7 separate regions of the Homo sapiens genome follow, and regions 1, 2, 4, 5, 6 and 7 are each linked to region 3. The links are contacts of gene promoters, found by promoter capture Hi-C in blood cells and fetal thymus (Javierre and others, 2016). All regions are on one chromosome and are shown on one strand. Each heading gives the region's core, a stretch centred on a gene start or on the middle of the fragment in contact. The rest is flanking DNA. Distances are from core to core; before and after follow the strand shown.

Evidence for each region. Contacts are between HindIII fragments. The CHiCAGO score rates a contact against its expected background, and 5 or more counts as called.
Region 1: a fragment that was not itself captured here is called in contact with the fragment with the promoter of GNPDA2 in region 3 in 1 of 17 cell types (non-activated CD4 T cells); the score reaches 5.3 in non-activated CD4 T cells.
Region 2: a contact is called between a fragment that was not itself captured here and the fragment with the promoter of GNPDA2 in region 3, in 2 of 17 cell types (M1 macrophages and monocytes). The highest score is 6.9, in M1 macrophages.
Region 4: a contact is called between a fragment that was not itself captured here and the fragment with the promoter of GNPDA2 in region 3, in 6 of 17 cell types (M1 macrophages, naive B cells, M2 macrophages and 3 more). The highest score is 9.0, in M1 macrophages.
Region 5: the fragment with the promoter of DCAF4L1 here is called in contact with the fragment with the promoter of GNPDA2 in region 3 in 1 of 17 cell types (non-activated CD4 T cells); the score reaches 5.7 in non-activated CD4 T cells.
Region 6: a contact is called between a fragment that was not itself captured here and the fragment with the promoter of GNPDA2 in region 3, in 3 of 17 cell types (non-activated CD4 T cells, naive CD8 T cells and total CD8 T cells). The highest score is 6.4, in non-activated CD4 T cells.
Region 7: a fragment that was not itself captured here is called in contact with the fragment with the promoter of GNPDA2 in region 3 in 3 of 17 cell types (total CD8 T cells, M1 macrophages and naive CD8 T cells); the score reaches 9.5 in total CD8 T cells.

What each region holds. Positions count from the first base shown.
Region 1 is chr4:42,661,947-42,665,555 of GRCh38, reverse strand. No RefSeq gene overlaps it. Among named protein-coding and RNA genes, the nearest start is that of ATP8A1-DT, 6.2 kb to the right of the region's middle. The HindIII fragment of the contact is 2,230 bases long and covers 776-3,005 here.
Region 2 is chr4:47,400,395-47,403,893 of GRCh38, reverse strand. It overlaps GABRB1 (gamma-aminobutyric acid type A receptor subunit beta1), which reads right to left. Exons shown (of 9, transcript NM_000812.4): 6 at 439-576; 7 at 183-335. Among named protein-coding and RNA genes, the nearest start is that of COMMD8, 62 kb to the left of the region's middle. The HindIII fragment of the contact is 495 bases long and covers 1,095-1,589 here.
Region 3 is chr4:44,724,681-44,727,895 of GRCh38, reverse strand. GNPDA2 (glucosamine-6-phosphate deaminase 2) reads left to right here and starts at 1,340. Exons shown (of 7, transcript NM_138335.3): 1 at 1,340-1,422. RefSeq lists an enhancer at 1,008-1,137 and a silencer at 1,630-1,924. The HindIII fragment of the contact is 3,169 bases long and covers 123-3,215 here.
Region 4 is chr4:47,479,051-47,482,471 of GRCh38, reverse strand. No RefSeq gene overlaps it. Among named protein-coding and RNA genes, the nearest start is that of ATP10D, 4.5 kb to the left of the region's middle. The HindIII fragment of the contact is 238 bases long and covers 1,491-1,728 here.
Region 5 is chr4:41,979,798-41,983,194 of GRCh38, reverse strand. DCAF4L1 (DDB1 and CUL4 associated factor 4 like 1) reads right to left here and starts at 1,439. Exons shown (of 1, transcript NM_001029955.4): 1 at 1-1,439. The coding sequence starts at 1,402. The coding sequence ends at 212. RefSeq lists enhancers at 177-949, 509-1,708. The HindIII fragment of the contact is 3,961 bases long and covers 1-3,010 here.
Region 6 is chr4:47,494,911-47,498,481 of GRCh38, reverse strand. All of the region lies in intron 1 of ATP10D (ATPase phospholipid transporting 10D (putative)), which reads right to left. Among named protein-coding and RNA genes, the nearest start is that of ATP10D, 11 kb to the right of the region's middle. The HindIII fragment of the contact is 3,976 bases long and covers 1-3,354 here.
Region 7 is chr4:47,008,114-47,011,569 of GRCh38, reverse strand. It overlaps a transcript of GABRB1 not described here. Among named protein-coding and RNA genes, the nearest start is that of GABRA4, 16 kb to the right of the region's middle. The HindIII fragment of the contact is 190 bases long and covers 1,441-1,630 here.

The DNA of each region.
Region 1 (3,609 bases), core at 641-3,140, 2.1 Mb after region 3:
TACCACCATGCCCAGCTAATTTTTGTATTTTTAGTAGAGATGGGGTTTCATCATGTTGGCCAGGATGGTCTCGATCTCCTGACCTCGTGATCTGCCTGCCTCGGCCTCCAAAAGTGCTGGGATTACAGGCATGAGCCACTGCGCCCAGCCTATGCTTGATTTTTAATAAAAATTCTGGACTTTCCCCCGTCAATATTTTTTACCTCATTATTGTGACTTTGTCTCCTTGAAATAACACCTAATGTGACATGGTGAGAAAAAAAAGCAAGATTTTCTTGGGAGGTTTTTTTCCTTCCCTTTTTCTTTTTCAATATTGACTTTCTGGTCAACATCAAGAAAATAAATTATATAATAATATTTTTCTCCACTGGTTATCCTTTTCATACATCAAACATCATACCATACTGTTTTCAAAATAAAAGACATAACATGCAGTAGAAACAAAATGTTTAGTGTAAATTTTTAGATACATTGCAAAAGCCCTATAAGCAACATTAAAGGGTTTCTGATATAGGTGTGGAGGCCCAGAAATATTTGGGGATACAATCATTATATACAGATACAGCCTAGCTTGCCCAGAGTACAATATACCGTGGTAATTTTATATTTATTCACATAATAATTTGATTAGTATTTGTCTTCCTGATGCAACATACATTCTATAACAGTCTGGATCCTGTCTGTTTCAGCTGACCACTCAATTTCCAATATCCTGCTCATTATCTAAAACATGGTGGGCACTCAATAAGTTGTGCTGAATGCTGATGAAAAAGCTTATCTAGTTACAGATAAGAACCATTCCATGGGTCAAGAGGAAACTTTTGGAAGGAATGGATATGTTTCTTATCTTGAATGTAGTGATGGCTTCACAGTTATATATATGTATCAGAACTTAAATTCTACATGTTAGACACATGAAGTTTATTGTATATCAATTCTACCTCAATAAAGCTGCTTTTAAAAATGTCTAAATGTATGACAATATTATGTTGATTGTCTTATACACAAGTTCAGGGACTATTTTATAATAATACTTTGTATAGAAACCAGCATTATTGAAATGCTGTTTGGTAACCTTTGGAAAAGAAGCAGCACTTCTAATTAAGTATGAATTTTTCACATCTTGGCTCTGATATGCAGGAAACTTTTAAAGTAAAAAAAAAATAATTTAATTAATCTCTTTTCATCTGTTTGAAATAACGCTATTGAATGTAAGATCCAACACTAGATATTATGATACAGCAGATCATTTCCCTTTGAATGTGCATTTACTTTTTGAATAAAATACTCAATAAGTGTTTTTCCCAAAAGATTGTGTGTGAGTTGAACCTGATTTTAAATATCCTGGAGATACTAATTCTTTAAAAATTTCTTTCAAGAGTTCTTTCATATAATACAAAACTGCATTTTGAAACTCTAGTTTCATTTAAACAGGAGCAGAATATTTTCAATTATATTGAAGAAAACATTGTTGTACTTTTTTGTTGGAAATACCCAGTATATGCAGAAGATAATAACATTAAAGACACTATAACTTTGTATTAAGACCTTGCTAAGGTGTTTGAAAAGACAGTAGTACTACAGGTATGAGAAATGAATCATAGTTGTGAGGGAAAAGTATTGATTTTATCATTATGAGTAAGAATAAGTGACTAAATTATTCAATGACAGCAAATTTAGAACTTTTGGTTGAAATTGGTTTATATTTAAAATTTGATCACTTAATTTTGACATTAATTTTTGTGGCACAAGGTTTTGCTGATATCAAATACTCCAAAGCAAATATGTTCTAAATTATTTCATGCAAATAATTCTCACAAAATAATATACCCCAATAAACATACTTATGAAGGACATAACTTATTATCTCTTCAGATGGAACACTACCTATCCTTCTACTCATTTCCAGTTTCCAATCTGAGGGATCCAGTTCATTTACATTCATTCATTCAACAACTATGTATGAATCCTGGACTGTATGACAGACACTGTTGTTAAGGTTGAACAAATTGCAATTAGCAAGACAAACGCAGCGAGAACTATTTATCATAAACAGGTAAACAAACAAATAAGAAAACTCCACATAGTGATAAGTACTATGAGAAAAATAGAATAAGGCAATGTGGCAGTGTCTAGCATTGGGGATAGTGGGGCAATATTAGCTGGAGTAGGCTGGAATCATCTGAGCCCTGTGGACGAATGAGGGGCTAGAGAAGCTGAGTCTGAGAAACAAGCAAGGGCAGGATCATAAAGATTTGGTTTTCTTCCTGAGTGCCATGGGAAGCTACCAAAGAGTCTTAAGAAATAACATGAACCAGTTTGTGTTTTAAAGCAATAATAATAATGGTGGCTCCCGTGAGACGAATGGAAGACAGGCATAGAAGCAGGGCGACCAGTTAGAAAGTATGGCAGGCAAGCGATGATGGTGACTTGTACACAGGTGGTAGAGGTAGAGATAAAGTAATGTGCATAGAATGAAGGTACATTCTGGGAACAGAGCCTAAACATCTCGCTCGTGTATTGGAGGGTTGTGCATATAAAGGTGGTGACACAAAGTAAGCAATCAAAATGAAGAAGGCTGGGGCAAAGAAAGTCCCTTACAAGTCTAACAGTATAATGATACTTTAACCATACACTATGCATTAAATTAATATATAACACCCATGATTATAGATACCAAAGCCTAATCTTCACTTGGAATAACCAGGCAGCTTTGCTATTAGATAGAATTTTACATCTCAACCTAAATGTTAAACTAAAAGATGTTAATTATGTAAAACTTAAGATTAATTTACCCGTTTCTTTAGTGCTTCTGCAAAAGAATTGGAAGTATAGTGGCCAGCACTGCTTAGTGTATGTATTGTATGGTTGTGTGGTAATCCACTTTCCATGCCTCAATCTCAATCACAAGCAGGGTTCTCAGCCATGTCTCCAACAACCCCCAGGACATGAGTTTCCAAAGCACCTCCAGCTGCATTGTGAGTTAACAAATTAGTGAGCAAGCTTTTCTCACCTACTTGACTATAAGTTTCTCCCAAAGGGGACCAATTCATAATTTTGGGGGTCCCAGACAATGACAAACCAGGTAATATCAAGTAATTAATAAGTGCAATTCCTCCCAAGATAGGAATATCCTCTGATATCTCTTTTGGATTTTCTGGACTTGGTCATTTTTTGGCTGATGCCTTTGGAGATTTAATTTTAAAAAATTTTTAACAGCTTTATTAAGATATAATTCACATAACATACAATTCACCTTAATATAATCCATTAGTATATTTACAGAATTGTGCATCCATCACAATATTTTTTATTACCCTAAAAAGAAACTCTGCATCAGCTGTCATCTCCCAGTGCTCCCATTCCACCCCCCATCCCTCAGCAACCATTAATCTTTTTGTTTGTGTAGATTTGCCTATTCTGGACATGTCATATAATTGGAATCATACAATATGTGAGCTTTTGTAACTGGTTCTTTCACTTAGCATGTTTTCAAAGTCATCCATGTTATAGCATGTGTTATTTTATTACTTTTTATTGCAGAATATACCATGGTATGAATATACCACATTTTATTTATCACTTGAGGGACATTTGCATTATTTCCCC
Region 2 (3,499 bases), core at 93-2,592, 2.7 Mb before region 3:
CAGTACATTGTAGAATATTCGTTGTGGACATTCTTACATTTAGATGTTTTATATTCAGGGACTTGTAAGATGATCTAATTCTTTGGCTTGCTATAAGAGAGCCCTTGCCTATAATTCCTGATATTGGTTATTTGTTTGAAAGTAAAATCTGTTAGCTCTCTGCAGTGCTGAGAATGTATTACCTAGTGCGACTCTGGCTGCAGATGCATCATAGTTGATCCAAAAAGACACCCAGGACAGAATTGTAATCAGTGTAGAAGGCATGTAGGTTTGCAAAATGAAGTAACCAATGTTTCTCTTTAGACGAAAACTTAGTGACAGTCGTGGATACGCTCCTGAGTTGAGAAACAAAAGACAAGTAATCAGACCATTATTTGGTTGGAACCATCTTCTTCCTTTCACAGCACCCCTAGTACATTTTGGGGGAAACAACCTCACCTGTTGTGAACTCCACCTTCTTAGACACCATCTTGTAGTCAACAATTGAAAATTGAGGAAGTTCGATTTTATTAACACCAGTGACTGCCCCTTCTCCTCCATTCCAGTAAAATTCAATGTCATCAGTGGTATAGCCATCTGAAACCAATAAAAACAGCACGGTTAAACAAAGTTTAGGAAATCATTTTGAATACCATCTGGGAGCTAGAGGAAAAATTCCCAGCACAAAAGTGGTAAGGTGGCATTGCTTTAAACTAGGGTGGTATGCAGGTCTCATGTGGAGTGCTATTTCTGATGGTTTGTTAGTAGCTTCATTGAAAGAATGGGTGCATCTGGCTTTACTGGACTTAAGCTCTGGATCGTTTAGTGATATCTGATGTCATTGCTGCAAATTTATTCTTATTGTATCTACTAATTTGCATTCCTTGATTAAATTGGGGGATGGCTGAATTCTAGGTACCTGGACATGGCTTTGGCTATGTGCTACTTAACAACAACAATAGCACAACAAGTAATAATAATTGAGCACATATTTGTTAAATGGATAACAGATAGTGTAAAGAGATGAAGTGTAATGAAAGACCAAGTTTATATATAGCCATTACATGATTAAGACATTAAAAACTACATATTTCTTTTAGAAAATTTGGCAAGCTTTTATTAATATCCTTTGATTATAGCTAATATTATTATAGCTAATATGTGGGTGAAAGTCTTAGGACTACATAAATTTTTGATAATGCTTTTATATCTTTATACTTATGAGAGTGAACTTTAGTTAATTTAAGGGGAATGTGTAGGGAACTGTAGATTGTAATAGAAGGGCTTGTCCTCAGGTCTTCAGCATGAAGGCCCTTTGCTGATGGCCTAATCTCTTCCTCTTCTCACTCTACTCCCACCTGGCAGTGGTCTAGCTGGGTTATCATTATGTATAAGAGTAACTTGCATAAGAAGAATGTACAGATACATTTTAAAAATCTAAAAATAATTTTAGGAATATTTTAAGACTATATTTTTCTCTACCAGCTAGAGACAAAGAAGCTCTTTCTAAATTCATTTTCTATTTAGGTTCACCTCAAATAAAAAAGCAAAAAATCTTTTTTTCCATTAGAATTGCAGGGGCTAGTGTTTCAAAGGTAACCACATAAGCTTTTTGTAGTGGACACCATGCTGATCTACTTTTGATTAAAGCCAGTAATACCTTTTCAAGAGATAAAAAATGATGTATTTGATATTTAGAAGTTGAATGCCAGGTGCCAAAGGGTCACCATCAACTTGTCCTTGCAGAATGTAAGAAATTTTAAGCTATTTTTCCCCACTCCCTTCCCCGCTTTTAAAAAGGAAAACAAAACTGTCTTAACTTTACTGCTTTAAACTGGCTTCCAGATATAATCACCAGTGTCTGAAAGACTAAGACCCTCTTTACTATTGGACTTAGAATAATCTACATGGGACTAATTGGCATATTGGGGACTTTACCAAGTTTGGGTATGATTCTGTAAGACTGATTCTAAATGTCTCCTTGAGAATTTGATAAAAACCTGCCAATAAAATCCATAGAAAAATATACACAGATAGATAGATAGATGATAGATAGATAGATAGATAGATAGATGATAGATAGATAGATAGCTAGATAGATAGATAGATAGATGGAATTTGATGGCAATTTCAGGAGATCATGGATCCCATTCATGGATTTTAGAATACAAAACTCCTTTCTTAGTTGAAATGGTTAGTGGCAATATGACAGCTTATATTCAACCCAGATTCCTTCCTTTCCAATTCCAATTCAACCATGAGTTACCTCTCCTAAGCCCAGCAGGAAGTAGTATCTGGGGAATGTGAGTTCTCAGCCCTGTCTGGATCCAGTGGACAATGGCATCATGGGATTTTCTTTCCCCCCTCAGCCACTAGAGAGAACCTAGGGACTGGTGGCATGGAGTCCTTGGGTGGGGATTAGAACAGTGAGATCAAAGAAGATAGCTGGGTGAAGGGGCTGTTGGGCCTACTAAAGAAGGAAGGGTATTACCACCTGTATGACTGTCTGGAGGAACTTCTGTCATCTCAGTCCTTTAAGGGGATGTGGGAAAGTTAAAAAAGTGGGCTGAGAAATCGCCATACTGTTTTCCATAGATATTGTGCCAATTTACATTCCTACCAACAGAGCATAAACGTTTCCATTTCACAACATCTATTGTTTTTTGACTTTTTAAAAATACAATTCGATTTAGCAATCCCACTACTGGGTATCTACTCAAAGGAAAAGAAGTCATTATATATAAAAGACTGCATTCGTACATTTATCACAACACAGTTTACAATTGCAAAGATATGGAGTCAACCTAAGTGCCCACCAACTGATGAAGGCAAAAGAAAAACGTGGCATATATATACACCATGGAGTACTACTCAACCATAATGGCCTGAACCCCGGAGGCGGAGCTTGCAGTGAGCGGAGATCGTGCCATTGCACTCCAGCCTGGGTGACACAGCGAGACTCCGTCTCAAAAAAAAAAAAAAAAAAAAAAAAAGAGAAGAACAAAAGAACAAAATAATGTATCTTGCAGCAACTTGGATGGAGTTGGAGGCCATTATCCTATATGAAGTAACTCAGGAACAGAAAATCAAATATTGCATGTTCTTATTTATAAGTGAGAGCTAAGCTATGGGTAGGCAAAGGCATACACAGTGGTATAAGGAATGTTGGAGACTCAGAAGTGGGGAGGCTGGGAGGAGGGTAAGGGATAAAAAAATCACATATTAGGTACAATGTACACTATTTGGGTAATGGATACATCAATAACCCAGACTTCACCACTATATAATTCATCCATGTAAGTAAAAACCCCTAAAGCTATTGAAAAAAAAGAGAGAGAAGAAAAGGCAGGTTGGGTCACTGAGAGAGAGAGAGAGAGAGAGAGAGAGACTACCTCCTGGTGCATCAACAGGCTGGAGCTCACTATGCTTTCCATCTACAACTTTGTTCCTTTTAAGGTGACCTGGCAGCTGGGCCCAAACCCCAAAGAATATGCAAGAAAAAATAACAATGCATATAAGG
Region 3 (3,215 bases), core at 91-2,590:
TACCTAAACTTCCTTATGTGGCACATATCTGTAATTCAAGACTGTAATTCAGTCTCCACCTTTCTACAGCATTCTTTCTAAAACACGTATGTTCTAGTCTCTTATCTTCAATTCATAAAGCTTAAGTGACTCCCTATTGCCTACAATACAAAGCCTAAATTCTATGCATAGCCTACAAACTACTTCATCATTTTACCTCAATCTTTTTTGGAGAGACAGGGTCTTGCTATGTTGCCCAGGCTGGTCTCCAACTCCTGGGTTCAAGCCATCCATGCACCATGACCTCTGAAAGTGCTGGGATTACAGGCGTGAGTCACCGAATCTGGCCAAAAATCGCTTTTGCAAACTTACTGAAGGCGATAGTACTAATAAACCTGTCTATTATCAGTATGTGAGCAATGTTGCTGTTTGAAGCTAAATCAACGAGAATGTAACATCCTACTCTTCACTAAAGGATGCAAGAGGAGTCATTACATTCAAAGAAGCAGGCTGGATTTACAACCCAGGTGAAAAACTTCATATAACGAGTTTGAGGACACAGCGTTTTACATTTTTTTAACTTGTAGTTTCCACAGAAACAGAACCTTAAGTTGGCTAGGAGTCAAGATTGTATTGTTCCTAACAGAACCCTAAACGGTGTTATTAATGGAACAGTGTTCCTGATGGAACATGGTGAAGACACAACACACTTTTCTCCTTTTGAATGATAGCTGCTTTCTTTACAATAATTTCCACAGCCCAATTCCTTCCCACTCCTGTATAAACATCTGTGATACCCAGCTCAAAGCTGATTCCAGCTTCCCCTATCCCTTTCTTAGACTCATTCAGCAAAAGCCAGTACCCTATTATATAGTGTTTTCTCTTACTGAGACGCTCCCGATTTCCCATGGTACTGTTTGCCCTTTTGCAAACTTTGATGAGTTTTTTGACACAAGACGCTTATCTGTCATTGCGTTTGCAAATATGCATTCAATAGCTTGGAGTAGAGAGAGAAATGTATTCATAAATGGCAAATATATTCATGTTGCCAAACAGCAACATAAGCAACAAAGTACGTGTGAGCACTACGGTCTTACATACTAAATCTCATAAGCCTAAAGAATCTACTGCAAATCCCTCTTTGAAAGATGGGGGGGAGGGGAAAGTAGCGTAAAGTGATGACCCAGAAACTGCGATCTTCCAGGCAAGAAGAGCGCCCAGCCGCACCGCACTCGGACCGAACTCCTCGCGTCTCACCTCAGGCGTCCTAAAGGCGGTGCGCATGCGCAGCGCCCGCCAGCCACGCCGCGGTTCCTTCCTGCGCCTTTATCTGCATCCGGGTCCGTGGGATTCGCGCTCCACTGGTCAGCTGGGGTCGCTCTCGGGTGGTTGGGTGTTGCTTGTTCCCGCTGTTCCAGCATCGAAGAACCATTGGGTCTGCCGGTAAGTTTAGCGGGGGGTGCGGCGGGGGCGCCAAGAAGGGGACTCGGGTCGGGGGACCCGACGGCAACTTCGCCCTGTGCGGCCTTTGTGCTGAGACTGGGACGCCGGGCCGGGGCGGAATGGGTGCTCAGGAACCTCGAGGCTGGGGGCGCGTGGGGTCTCCCGTATTGCCACTCGCGGACCTGGTTGTCCTCTCCGGATTTGTGCCTACGGGAGAAGGCGTCCCTGCCCTCTCCTCTCTCGCGGCTTCTTCTTGACACCTCTCTCTACACTCGTTAAAAATTCCTAACAGTCATCCTCATTTGCATTCGCTGTCCTTTGCCAAGTGAGGGCCAGGCAAACGCGCAGCTGAGGGGAATCTGCAGCCCCCGCCTCCCGGGCAGGAACCACAGCCTTCTTTGCTGTCTCTCGTCCCTCCTCGGGTCGGTCCCACACGCGCGGCCAGGCCACCCTTACGCTTTCAGGACAGGTCAGGTTGAGTAGGGAAAAGCTCAGAGCAGAGGTTCTGCAAGTGTAGATTCTGGTCTTGGCCCCGCCATTAACTAGCTGTGTAACTTCACGGGTGTAGAAGTTGTCATCCACCATTGAAGTTTTGCGATTTATATTCAGCAGCCCTTTTTCCTAGCGATGCACATCCAAAATGAATCAGCACCTGAAGGAAGACGAGGGAAAGGGTGGTGCTCTGTTGTTTTTTGATGCTGTCTTGTGATGCCAGAGAATTGCATAAGGCGACAATAGTTTGGATCTCTGAGGATTGGCAAAAACTGGAAAAGTCAAATCTTAAAAACTTAAATGTGGTGAAGAAATTCTTCTTTGCTCTGGGTGAAGGGATTCATTTGGGACTTTTGGAGGTGACTCTGCGCCCTCCAGAGAGTTTAAGAAAACAAAAAGTTGCCTGTACCTTGGTCTGAGAGACTTGCTTAAACTTCGTTTCAGTGAGATGTGTGGTGTTCTTAACAAATTTCACCTGATTATGAATATCCCCTGTGATAATTTGCAAAAGCAGAGATTCCTTGGACTTCATTTCAGATCTTTTGAAACACTGTGTCTAGGGAGAGGGACCTGAGAATCTGTATTTTTAACTAGCATCGTAAGTGATTCTCAACCGGTAAGACATCTTTGGCTAATGTCTCTTTGAGTCAGAAACACTTAGTTTTAAAGCCAGCTCCCCGGGCCACTTTTTAACGTCAGCAATAAACTTCTCGTAGTTGCAGTTTTCTGTATATGAAGAGTGAGAATAATGCTTTCAACCTCAGAGACAAGTGATTCTAAGCCCTTTGACAATAGAGTTAATCATTTTTGTGTCTACAGAACCTAGCATAGTGCTTAGAATATAATAGGTCTTCAAACGTGTGTTGAACTGAGAAAAATAACATGCCCAGGATGCAGAAGACATTGGAAAGCTCTAATGCTTCTCGTCCTCCTTACCTTATTTTTTTTCCGTTTTATTAACAATCAGCTGGCCATATATTCTTGTTAGAAGTAAATATATCTTTTGATGTTCATTACAGCCAATAATTCTTTCTGATTCTTTGGTTTAACTCTAAAATTGTTTTTGACATTAGATTATGGATTATATTTAAGTGGAGGCTGAGTCCAGTTGTTGGACTGAATTTATGACTTACTATGTAATTTATTTTCTGTAAATAAATAATTGTTATCGGGCCAGAATTCTAGATCATGGTGACCATGATTTTTTGTTGTTGTGTCAGAATTCGAAACTGTTACCTTCTTAAAGACATTTAGATTCCATACATTTATTTTAATAAGACCTTTTAATCTCATTAATTTAG
Region 4 (3,421 bases), core at 360-2,859, 2.8 Mb before region 3:
GAAGAAGAAGAAGAAGAGGAAGAGGAAGAGGAAGAGGAAGAAGAAGAAGATCAATGCTGCAGGCAATTAAACTTGTCCCTTGTAGATGAGCCCTGATTTTAACAACATAATCACAGGATTTTATGTCTCTTTTTTTCTTTCCTCAATATTCATTGAGTGCTAGTGAACCATTTCTGTTAGACACTGTACTAAGAAGTTTACAGCTATGACTTCGTGTATTCCTCTTATCATCCCTATGAGGTCATTCTTCATTTAGAGATGAGACATCTGAGGCACAAAGAGTTAGAGCAACTTATCCAAGATGGCAAGACAGCAGGTGAAAGAGCTGGCTTGAGAACACACATTCTTAATGGAGCTCTCTACTGTGGGCTAAGCAGCACAGCTTTCAATAAATTAGGGAAGTGAATAGTAAATGATTTTTGTTGGGATAGGGTAAAACCATGCTATGACTATAACTGCCTTGTTGACAGTAGAAATTCTTTATTTCTAGAAACAACAAGGATATCTACATTATTATTACTAGTTGTAAACATAGATCTTAATTTTATGTGTGCGTTTTTTTTTTAAAGAGGAAATACATTTCCTTCCCTTTGTATCAGGTGAGTCCCTTTCGTCCATAGGAGAACAAATTGGCTTTTAACCTTGTAAAAACCTTTAACATGCAATGATTACACAGGATATCAGAAAGGGAAAATCCAGATTAGCAGAGATCCAGGCTGGCCCCAGAGTTCTGGATAAGTCCGTCAACTATTTATTGATTCTGTTTATAATATCAAGAACACTGGTAATAGGACAGTAGCACAATTCCTTGTATGAAATGATGGCCCTTTAGTCTAGGAAAGATGATTAGTTTCTTATTTAGACAAAGATAGGTACCAGAGCTTTTTCTGAATAAATGTAGTTAAGAAAAAGAAGTATACATTTCTCTGGATAATGTGTATTTCCCCTAGTGACCAGAGAAGGCAGGAGTTTGGAAACTTTGGAGAGGTGAAAGGATGGGAGATAGTTCTACCTAGAGAGAAGATGGAATTCAGCTTCTAAGGAATGATATGTAATCTTGCATCAAATGTGGAATAAGACCCATGACCAATTCCCTGAATAGGTATTGGCTGAGTGACTTTCAGAAAGTAATATCTTAAAAGTTTCACTTTTAAGCTATTTTCTCTTTCTATGGTGCTGTATTCCTCACAAATCAGAGCTCAGGCAACAGGCTATGGGTACAGTGCAAGATAACACTATCAGCCTCTGCAACAGCTGCATGGGACCTGGGGTGTCTGGAGCCCACCATGGATAAGAAACTCATGGATCTGATGAAGAAGCCTGTGTTCCAGGCTCTCGAAGAGCACAACAAGTGGCCGAGAGAATGTTCAGTGGGGTTGGCGAGGAGACTGGGCCAGCACAGCTCTAGACACCCCAGGTCCCATGCAGCTGTCTTAATTTTCACATATCTTTATTCTTTATTTTCACAGTATGTTCTGCAAATAAAAGCTTGGCATAAAAAACTGAACTGGATTCAAAATCCATTCACATTATCACAAGGAATTCCAGTATTACATTACCCAGTAAAATATTAGTTGGAATATTGTGACTGCCAATATTCAACCAGTTTTGACATAAAAATGATAGCTTTATGTGGTTCAACTAATAAAAAAAAGGACTATTAGCATCTTTAGGTATAATGTCAATTATTGCACAGTCTGGTATGGTTGTAAAAGTCATTCATAAGCTTTTGTCACATATTTGAGTGAACAGAATTTCTCATTGAGAGTAATTATCAAGAATTTGAATGAATCATTATAAAGTATCAAAAATTGTAACTAGACATTTTAAGCATAAAACCTCATATGAAAATGCACCCAAAAAGAAGCTAGACACAAAAGTCTACATATTGTTTGATTCCATTTCTATGAAATTCCCAGAATAGATAAAGCCATAGAGATCGAAAGTAGAGTAGTAGTTGCCAGGAGCTGGGGGAAGAGAGGAATGGAGCATGACTGTGAAGGGGTACAGGGTTTCTATTTGGTGTGATGAAAATGTTCTGAAATTAAACCACTTAAAAGGGGTGATTTTTATGGTATGTAAGTTATATCTCAATTAGAAAACATATAAGAAAAAATGTTCACTGAAGCAAGCAAAAGATAAGAATTTTTAAATGTTTTATGAGGATATTGTATATGAACTCAAAGTTTAATATTTTTCTCAATACTTCAAATTTTAGTTTTTAACAATTCTGTAATACAAGGAAAACACAATGAAACTTTATACCAAGCCCCACAGAGATCAGTTAGTTTACTTCATGAGGCTGTACAGGTATCATTTTTCATGAGTGCTAGCACATGAAAAAGTACTAAAATCTCTCTGCTGTATTATCCTCCAACCTGTAACGAAGTCTGCTCTGACCACTGCCCCTATCAATTGGGTCGGGAAAGTTGGGAAGGAATGTCTGCCTGAGAGGAAGAGGCCAGAGAAAAGATGGCAAACTTGGAGGCTATATGACCAGTTAGGATTAAAAATTCATGGGAAGGTCGGGCGCAGTAGTTCACACCTGTAATCCTAGCACTTTGAGAGGCTGAGGCGAGCAGATCACTTGAGGTCAGGAGTTCGAAACCAGCCTGGCCAACATGGCGAAACCCTGTCTCTACTAAAAATACAAAAAAATTAGCCATATATGGTGGTGGGCACCTGTAATCCCAGCTACTTGGGAGGCTGAGGCAGGATAATTGCTTGAATCCGGGAGGCGGAGGTTGCGATGAGCCGAGATTGCGACACTCCAGCCTGGGCGACAGAGCAAGACTCCGTCTCAAAAAACAAAACAAAACAACAACAACAACAACAACAACAAAAATTCACAGGAAGCACAAATTCTGGCTAGGAAATGATTAACCCCTCCTTTCTCTGTGAATCTTGTAATCAGGAGGAAGTTCTAGCTATTTTATTTGAATTTTGAGGGATAAAGCAACCTTAGAAGGCAGAAAGAATTTGAAATATGTGGATTAAAAATCAATTCTACAATCACTAGAAAAAGTTGGACCAAAGTGAATTAAGTCTTCAGTTTCAACCCCTCTGTACCCAGAACTTTGTATATTTTGTTCATTCACTTATTCATTGAACAAATATTAATAGAGCACTGAATATGTGGCAGGCACCATTTCGGGCGCAGGGAATATACAAAACAAACAAAAAGCCTTGCTCCTTATTGGATGGATGTAAAATATTTAATATAACAAATGGCAATGTGTGCTATGAAGAGCACTGCAAGGTGAGGAGGAGAGAGAGTGCCAGAGTAGGGGAGAGGGATAGCTTTTGATTTGGGGAAGGTCTTACCAAGAATGTGACATTTAAGCAAAGATCTGAAGTAGGTGAGCGAGAGAGCCATAAGGGTGTCTGGGGATGGAGCATTTCAGGGAAAGAGAACATGCAG
Region 5 (3,397 bases), core at 190-2,689, 2.7 Mb after region 3:
GAAAAGGACTTTCAAGTTAAGTCCACAGTTTAACTGAAATAACTTTACAAGAACGTCTCCACATAAAACTCTTAACACCTTACCCCTGGCAGCCGGATGGATGCGATCTATATACAACACGTCTCTTAAAATGCTCTCACAGAAACGGTAATAAGATACTCTTAACTTCCTTAAGTCAAATCCACATTCGGCCGCGCTGCCACCTGCAGAATTAGCTGAAGGGGAAACAATAAAGGTCCTGCCGGACAGCCATGAGCAGCCCTGGTGCTGCTCCCCGGATGCCCCCGAGCCGAGAAGCGAAGGCCACGCTGGGAATGTCGTCCTCGGAGGCAGAGTACGGGGAAGGGATGGTTCTGAGCAGGTGGGCATCATGGAGGCTCCAGATTCTCGTGTAGCAGTCCTGGCCCACTGCCACCACGATTCCCTCTTCCTCGTGCACATGCAGGGGCAGATAGGCGGACTCATTCACGTGACCTTCGTACTGCCTTACACATTTAGTGGCCCTCAGATCCCACAGCTTGATCTTTCCAGTCATGTCTGATGCCATCAGGCATTGCTCTTCTTGGAGGATTTGCACAGAGGTCACTGCTGAGTCATGGAACAGGCGAGTGGCCCTCCACCCCTTGCCTCGATTTCTACAACGCAGATCAATGGCAAAGATCTCCCCGGAGCGACAGCCATTAAACAGCAAAGGAGCCGTACTAGCAAACTGCTGGGCCAAGACATCACTGCTGGTATCAAATGACTGCTGGTGTCCCGTCGCCACGCTGGTCAACAGGACCTGCTGAGACAAGCCTGCACTAAAGCAGTGATATGCCCGGGTGTTGAGGGACCACGCACAGGACCAGGCCTCTGGGATCTGGAAACTGCAGAGCATGCCAGGCTGGTTAACTCTTGTGTGAACACTTAAGAACCGCGACGCTGGGAGCAGCACTGCACAGCTTGGAGCATCTGTGATTCCCTCGAAGCACAGCAGAACGTGAGAGTCCAACTGGTTCAGCGAGGCCCAGCACAGGGACTTCACCTTCCGGTTGGGGACGTAGAGGTTTCTGAGCACGTACACGTGGAACGAAGGGATCTTCAGAGTTCGCAGGCTGATGATGCCGTACTTGGAGCCTTCGACTTCGACCTGGTTCACTACGAAGAGCTGGTCGCTGTTGGTACTCGCCAGAATGAAGTTAAATCGGTCGCTCGCCAAAGAGGAGGGATCCAAGCTCCGAATTTGGACCTTTTTCCGCTCCATGCAGCTCACACGCAGCTCGTTGGCTAAACGGGAGTAACTGGTGACGTTGAGGAAACCTAGCTGGCTTTTTCGGAGCATGGAAGATGCATTAAATCCCATTCTGGCTACCTTTTTCAGCTTGGCCTCTTCCTCGAGGAGTCGCAGCCTTTCAGCCTCCATTTCCTCCTGCGGAATGTTCCTCGTGACAGGAAATTCTGCAGGATGTTCTTCTCCGTGACAGGATGTTCTTTTCCGTGACAGGAAGTTCCGTCCGGGTGCAAGCGGAAGTGTTGCTACTTTTTATCCTCTCTATTCTAGGAGGAAGTCCATTGTTACAGATGTGTATTACAAATCTCTTTTCCTACTCTGTGGGTTGTCGTATTCTCTCAGTGGTGTCTTGATGAAAGGAAGTTCTTGATGTTAAATTTTTTCCTTTCTCTTTTTGAGACAGGGTCTTGCTCTTTCACCCAGGCTGGAGTCCAGTGGCACGACCACGGCTCACTGCAGCCTGGAACTCCTGGGCTCAAGTGATTCTCCTACCTCTGCCCTACTTAGCTGGGACTATGGGCTCACAACACCATGCCAGGCTACTTTTTTTGTAAAGATGGGGTCTCCCTGCTTTGCCGATGCTAGTCTGGAACTCTTGAGCTCAAGCAGCCTGTCCGCCTCAGCCTCCCAAAGTGCTGGGATTACAAGCATGAGCCCACGCGCCCTGCCTGTATTTCTTATTTTTTTATTTTTTATTTTAAGACGGAGTCTCGCTCTGTCGGCCAGGCTGGAGTACAGTGGCGCGATCTCGGTTCACTGCAAGCTCTGCCTCCCACGTTCACGCCATTCTCCTGCCTCAGCCTCCCAAGTGGCTGGGACTACAGGCGCCCGCCACCACGCCTGGCTAATTTTTTTTGTATTTTTAGTAGAGACAGGGTTTCACCGTGTTAGCCAGATGGTCTCGATCTGCTGACCTCATGATCGGCCCGCCTCAGCCTCCTAAAGTTCCGGGATTACAAGCGTGAGCCACTGCGCCCGGCCGCCTGTATTTTTAAAATACAGTTAGAGACCAGCCTGGGCGGCATGGTGAAACTTTGTCTCTAAAAAAATACAAAGATTAGGCCGGGCGCAGTGGCTCACGCCTGTAATCCCAGCACTTTGGGAGGCGCAGGCAGGCGGATCACGAGGTCAAGAGATTGAGACCATCCCGGCTAACACGGTGAAACCCCGTCTCTACCAACAATTAAAAAAATTAGCCGGGCATCGTGGCGGGCGCCTGTAGACCCAGCTACTCTGGAGGCTGAGGCAAGAGAATGGCGTGAACCCGGGAGGCGGAGCTTGCAGTGAGCCGAGATCGCGCCACTGCATTCTAGCCTGGGCAACAGAGCAAGACTCTGTCTCAAAAAATAAATAAATAAATAAAATACAAAAATTAGCGGGGTATGGTGCACACCTGTAGACCCAGCTACTCAGGAGACTGGGAGGGAAAATCACTTGAGCCTAGGAGTCTTGGAGGGAAAATCACCTGAGCCCTGAAAGTTGAGGCTGCAGTGATCACCCCACTGCACTCCAGCCCAGCTGGGAGACAGAATAAGACCCTGTCTCAAAAAGAAAGAAAAATAAGTAAATAAATTATGAATTTATCCAAATTGTCCATTTGTTTCATTAATGGTTAGTGTCTTTCATGTTCTGTTCAGGACATTAGTACCTATTACATGATACTAGTAAAGTTTTGGGGTGTCTTCAAGAGGAGGCTGATATCTCCAGTCCCCATCTGGATGTTTCCTTTGCCACAAAGCTTGCTGACTCCCCTTACGCTATGAATTTCCAGGAATTTTGGAGGACTGGGGAGAGTTGGTAGGGACTACAGAGAAATCCGGTGATATCTGGACTATGGATCCTGTCGGAATCTACAGGCCCCAGAGCTGGGATCACAGAGAGCACAGGAGATTGAGGCCCACACACTTGCCATGGAACATAACATGGGACAAGGGATTTCTATGTATCAGAAGAATGTGTTTCACCACTGCCAAATGGAAGTCAGCTGACAGATGCAGAAGTCTTGCAAAGGGCTATCAAAGCATAGAGGACTGCTTGATACTGAGTTATCAGTGGGGCTGTTAGGAACCCCATATATTCTAACAATGACCTACAGAAAGCAGATAGCAACATGGCGGCAGTCAGACA
Region 6 (3,571 bases), core at 117-2,616, 2.8 Mb before region 3:
TGTTTGTCCTCATACTACTGATGACTTAAGTTGTATTAGAGCAGTGGTCCTCAAATGGGGCCAATTGTACCTCCCCTTCCAGCCCCCTAGGACATTTGCTAATATCTGGAGATATTTTTGGTTGTGGAAAGAAGCCAGAGATACTGTTAAATATGCAGCAATACACAGGACAATCCTTCACAACAAATAATTATCTAGTCCCAAATGTCAAGAAATGCTGCTGCTGAGAAACTCTGGGTTAAAAGAAGCCATCACATTTGTCCAAGAGAGAGGTAAGTAGCACAGTGGAAAGAACAGAGTATTTCCGAGTCATGGGTTCAAATTCTGGCTCTCCCACTCAGCCCTAGTGGGACTTCTTATGACCCTCAGTTTTCCAATGAGGAAAATGGCAATGATATCATCTGCTCTGTAGGGTTGTTGTGAGGAGTTAATGGGAATGTACGTAAGACATCTGACATATAATAGATTAACAAATGGTAGCTATTCTTGCTTTTATAAGAATACATATGAATTGTTTGATGCCAACATTTCTTCAAAGTAGGAAAAGCATTTTAAAGATGCTTAACAGCTTAAACAAAAAACTCAGAATGTTAAAGCCAGAAAGAATGTTAATATCCAACTAAATACTTCATTTTACACAGAAGAAAACAGAGGTTTGGAAAGAATGACTTACCCAAGATTACACAGCAAGTTAGTGGCAATTCACATACAATAATCCTGCTGTTTGCTCCACTACCATTTTCTTATTCATGCATATATAGATAGGCTTTTATTAATTCCTAAACTATGTCATTATTTATGAATGTCATAAATTATTTAAGTCAATTTGAATACAATATTATTATGTTTGCCAGAATTTTATATACTAGTATGATTCAACTATAAAGTAAGCTAAGACTTCTACAGATAGGTACTTATCCTAATATTTTCATGGCCTATTTGAGCTAATCTGTGGACTCTGCCCCATTGTTTCAGTATCACCCTAACAAGTTCCATTATTACAATGATCTATTTTTTTTTTTATTTGAGACGGAGTTTCGCTCTTGTTGTCCAGGCTGGAGTGCAACGGCGCAATCTCAGCTCACTGCAACATCGGTCTCCCCGGTTCAAGCGATTCTCCTGCCTCAGCCTCCTGAGTAGCTGGGATTACAGGCACATGCCACCACGCCCGGCTAATTCTGTATTTTTAGTAGAGACGGGATTTCTCCACGTTGGTCAGGCTGGTCTCGAACTCCTGACTTCAGGCAATCTGCCCACCTCAGCCTCCTAAAGTGCTGGGATTACAGGCATGAGCCACCATGCCCGGCTACAATGGTCTATTTTTTAAATTAATATCTTATAGGCCAGGTGCGGTGGCTCACGCCTGTAATCCCAGCAATTCGGGAGGCCGAGGTGGGAGGATCGCCTGAGGTCAGAAGTTTGAGACAAGCCTGGCCAATGTGGTGAAACCCGTTTCTACTAAAAATACAAAAATTAGCCAGTTGTGGTAGCGGGCAACTGTAATCACAGCTACTCAGGAGGCTGAGGCATGAGAATCACTCGAACCCAGGAGGCAGAGGTTACAGTGAGCCGAGATCACACCACTGCACTCCAGCCTGGGCAGTAGAGTGAAACTCAGTCTCAAAAATTAATTAATTAATTAATATCTTATAAGATAAATATTAAAAATTATTCATTTCTGGTTTAATAGTCACATGAATAGCACAGTTGGAAAAAAAGCCTGAACAAACACAGAAGCCATATACTATAAATATATAGGAAAAAAATATTTTCAACTTCAGTAGTAACCTAAAAAAAAGAATTTAAGACAGAGTTAGCATTTTTTTGACTCTGAATGTAGAATGTAGCAAAGAGTTTCTTTATTCATAATGCTCAATGAAGGCATACATTCATATAGTTTTGGGGGACTTTAACCTGCTCTTACTTGTCTTACTTCTCTAGACCCATAGGATAATATGCTCTAAAAATGTCCTCTCTGGCCCTCAGTAGAAATATACTGAACTCAGCCTTAGAAAGTCACTACACAGCCGGGCGCGGTGGCTCACGCCTGTAATCCCAGCACTTTGGGAGGCTGAGGCAGGCAGATCACCTGAGGTCAGGAGTTCAAGACCAGCCTGACCAACATGGAGAAACACCATCTCTACTAAAAATACAAAATTAGCCGGGCGTGGTGGCCCATGCCTGTAATCCCAGCTACTCCGGAGGCTGAGGCAGGAGAATGGCTTGAACCCGGGAGGCGGAGGTTTCTGTGAGCTGAGATCATGCCATTGCACTCCAGCCTGGGCCACAAGAGTGAAACTCCGTCTCAAAAAAAAAAAAAAAAAAGAAAAAGGAAAGTCACTACACAAATGTTGAGAAATAGAGAAATTGTTGACTGCATTATATCTAATTGTGTTAAATCTATTTCTAATGGAAATATAAGACAGCTGTTAAAAATGATGTTTAGGCTGGGCATGGTGGCTCACACCTGTAATTCTAACACTTTAGGAGGCCGAGGTGGGCAGATCACCTCAGGTCAGGAGTTCGCGACCAGCCTGACCAACATGGAGAAACCCCATCTCTACTAAAAATACAAAATTAGCCAGGCGCGGTGGCGCATGCCGGTAATCCCAGCTGCTGGGGAGGCTGAGGCAGAAGAATTGCTTGAAAACGGGAGATGGAGGTTGCAGTGAGCCGAGATTGCACCATTGCACTCCAGCCTGAGCAACAAGAGCGAAACTGCATTTCAAAAAAAAAAAAAAAAAGTTGCTTAAAAGAATTGTTAATGACTCATAAAATGCTTAAAGTTTATAAAGTTTTAAAGCATGATTTAGACCTGTATACAAGTATAATCTCAACTATGAATATATACAATATATAAACATGGAAGAATTTCAAATAAAATATTTTTAAAAACATTAACAGTGGTTATTTTGGGATAGTCTATTAATAGCAGATTTTAATTTTTTCAGTGTTTTTATACTCTCCATGTTTTTTTTACCATTAACACATATACTTATTTTGGAATTAGAAAACAGAACTTCATTTTAATCAAAAAGTTAAATTTTGATGAAACTTCATATAATCATGAAGCCTATACACAGAACTTAATGTATTGCTTTTACATTTAAGATGTGGAAAAGAGGTGCATTCCTTTAACTCTTTTTTTTCTTTCCTTTTTTTTTAAAGCACAACTTCATAAAATGCAAGCCAAGCGTGCTGCTTCAATACTGAAAATGAATGGTCACACATAAGGCCATGGGTAAGATGCGTACATACTAATAATGCTATACTCAATATTAAACCAGAAATTACATTTAACTTAGTATATAAGTTTCTTGACATGTAAGTTCAACATAGTTTAGTGTATAAGCTTCTTGATAAAGGCAAATATGTGTGTTCCTGCAAAGAAGCATTACATGTAATTATAAATGTTGCAAAGCTAATTAATTAAAGCATTCAGTTTTGGGGTTTTTGTTTCTTGTTTTTACCAAAAGATAATTACTAAAAGTTACCTTATAAATGTCTGGCTAAATTTCAATAAATAGCATACTTAAATGTCAATATAGTTTTGGGAGACTCTTCTTTCTGA
Region 7 (3,456 bases), core at 286-2,785, 2.3 Mb before region 3:
TCTCTTTGGGAGCAGCTTGGCCTCAGAGTCTGAGTCTGATATGTTTCTGTTTCCCAAATGGTCAAACAAAACCATTTGACCCTACTTGGGACCTTACCCTTATTCATTCTTGCACCTAGTTTTTGGCCCCAAGCAAGCAGTACCCAAGGTAGAAGTCCTCAGTTCAGCTCACATCCTTCTTGCTGTCCATTTTTCTCTGTAGTTGCCGCCCAGACAGTTCACAGCTGGGTTTAATACCTACTGCAGCTCCCTCAGTCCTGAGTGGGATCACAGGTCTGGGTCCAGCTCATACCTGTGGCCTTATTTTTGCAGCAACAATGATAAGGTGAGGTCTTGGGCAAAACAGGAAAGTCTTTGAAGTTTGTCCCTGGGCCCTCCCACCTTTTTCTGCTAATGTTTCCCACACAGCTGCATTTCCTCTCAATTTTTAGGTACTTTGACCTTTGAATTTCATCTACCATTGAAACTGCAACTAGTCTAATGCTTTCACTTTCACTTTGACTAAAACTTATTCACACCAACGTGTTAACTCTCTAATGTTTTAACACTTTTAAGATTTTTACCTCTAGCTGAAGAAGGACTCTCTGTCAGTGGCAATGAGTTTAAAAAAAAAAAGTGTCAGGTTCAAAAATCCACTGTGTGAGTTATTAATAGAACTAACACTTTGTTAGTGCTAACTATGTTCCAGGAGCTCTTCAAATAGTTTTAACATGTATTAACACATTTCATCTTTGATAAAAATCCTATGAAATAGGCACTATCATTGTCCTCATTTTGCAAATGACACTGAAACCCAGAGTGGAGAAGCAATGTTCCAAAAGTGAAACAGCTAAGAAGTTCAGGAGTCAGGATGACACTAGGTCAGAGCCAACAACATTCCAGCTTTGGGGAGGAAGATTCAGGAACTTTGCTACATAATAAGAATATATGGTGATGGCATGATAATTTCACAATAATAAAAGTTACTGGGAAATGTGGCAACATTTGAGTTGATCATATTTATTTGCATTGACAAAATAAAGTAAGCTCTGCATTGCTTACAATATTTCCTTCATTAGTGTGCAACACAATCATTGTTATGCAATCATTCACAGACTATTAGAGTAGGAGGCAGGAGACCTAACTACCATTAACTGACTAGATGTGATCTTTATTTTGTTACTTAACCCCTCAGGTTCTCATCTCTTAAGCAAGGATGAGGCAGAGATCTGAACTAAATAATGTAAAAAGTTATTACTGCTCTAATAGTCAGCAAATGGGTCTGGTTAGCTTTACTGGCTATATTTTATTATAGTTTGTTGCTCAGATAACATGATCATCTGATTACATCTTAAACATTTTTTTAAAAAGAAATACTTTGGTGATTGCAATTCCTCCTGCATTGTTTCATTACTTATTAAAGGAAGGACAAGACAGTGTGTGCCACTCATTGAGAAAGCTTCCTTGAGTATGCACCAAAGCAAAGGCTGGCTGAGAATCTGCAGCAAAACAGCCAAATTTATCCAGAGGTGAGCAGAAGCCTGGTTAAAATGTCAGCTGTGGTAGGTAAAGTTTATCTGCACAGAGTTGCACAGCTCATCCGAATGTCTTGTTTTGTGAACTGTTTAGTAGAGCCTTTAAAAAGGAAGCTTTCAAAGTATACACATCCATTAAAAAATACTGAATTTGGATGAAACTTTCAGTTGCTTATCAAATGGTGACCACCATCACATTCTTGGTTTTATTTATTTCCGTTCCAGGCTGAAGACCACCTGTTGAGTACTACCTCAATCACTCAGTGGTCAATACATAATGTTTTTGGCACACTTCTCCTTATCCAGTGGACAGGCCCTAAAACCCCCCAACTTAAATCACCTCAACCAATTAACTTCTCCACTCCTACAATCAAATTCCAGAGTACCTTTGGAGATAATCCACAATGGTATGGATTTTATGCTATCATACGACTTTGACATCATCTGGCTAACCAGAGGCCTCTTGTCAATGGTCATAAACTTGGTTTCTACAACTGGACTTATTAGCTCTCAAGTTCTATTTTTTTCTTCTTAAAAAAACTAAAATTGATGTTGTTCTTAATGTAAGCACATTAAACACATTAAACTTGGTAGATAGTGTTGATTACCTGTGTTAATGCATTAATTTTAGGTGTTATTCTTTAAAATTATATAGGTAAGCCTGTAAGGCAAATACATTATAATGGTAGTGTTTTTAAAACTTTTAATTATTATGGGTACATAATGGTATATATTTTGTGTGGTAAATGTGATGTTTTGATACAAAAACATATATTTAACTTTTTATAGATACATAATTTATATAAAATTTAATTAATAAATATTTTGAATATATTTATATTTTGTTTTATATTTATATACAAAAATATTGAGTGAACAAAATGTAGTATCTGGCCGGGCGCGGTGGCTCATGCCTGTAATCCCAGCACTTTGGGAGGCCGAGGTGGGTGGATCATGAGGTCAGGAGATGGAGACCATCCTGGTTAACACAGTGAAACCCCGTCTCTACTAAAAAATACAAAAAATTAGCCGGGCGTGGTGGTGGGCGCCTGTAGTCCCAGCTACTCGGGAGGCTGAGGCAGGAGAATGGCATGAACCCGGGAGGAGGAGCTTGCAGTGAGCTGAGATCACGCCACTGCACTCCAGCCTGGGAAACAGAGCGAGACTCGTCTCAAAAAAAAAAAAAAAAAAAAAAAAAAAAAGGTAGTATCTGATAGCGTGACAGGGTGAACTACAGTTAATACTGCTGGTATTTTTAAAAGTCCAGTTAAAATATTGGCTAGGTGCAGTGGCTCACGCCTGTAATCCCAGCACTTTCAGAGGCCAAGGCCGGTGGATCACTTGAGGTCAGGAGTTCAAGACCAGCCTGGCCAACATGGTGAAACCTCGTCTCTACTAAAAATACAAAAAAAAAAAAAAAAAAAAATTAGCTGGGTGTGGTGGCGGGAGCCTGTAATCCCAGCTACCCGGGAGGCTGAGGCAGGAGAATCACTTGAACCTGGAAAGCAGAGGTTGCAGTGAGCCAAGATCACACCACTACACTCCAGCTGGGGCAAAAGAGTGAGACTCCATCTCAAGAAAAAAAAAAAAAGTAAAATATTTTATTTTTTCCTGAAATGATAGTCCATATTAGAAGTTTTACAGTTGGCATTCCTTATATTCTAACACAAACTTTCTACTCTCTTCTATTATTTCTTTGTAGAATCTCATCTAGCCCACGTCTTATTTACCATTTATCATTTCAAATGTATATTTTAGGTACAGAGCACTGTTCTAAGTGACTATAGGGCACTTTTGGTTGTCCCACAATGATCATCTCTAGTTTTCTGCCCTCCAACTTCCTGTATTCTGTATTTAATGAATGACAACACTCAAGCATGTAACCAAGACAAAAATCTGGGAGTCATTTCTTGCTAACAAATACCAACAATGTCCATCTTGC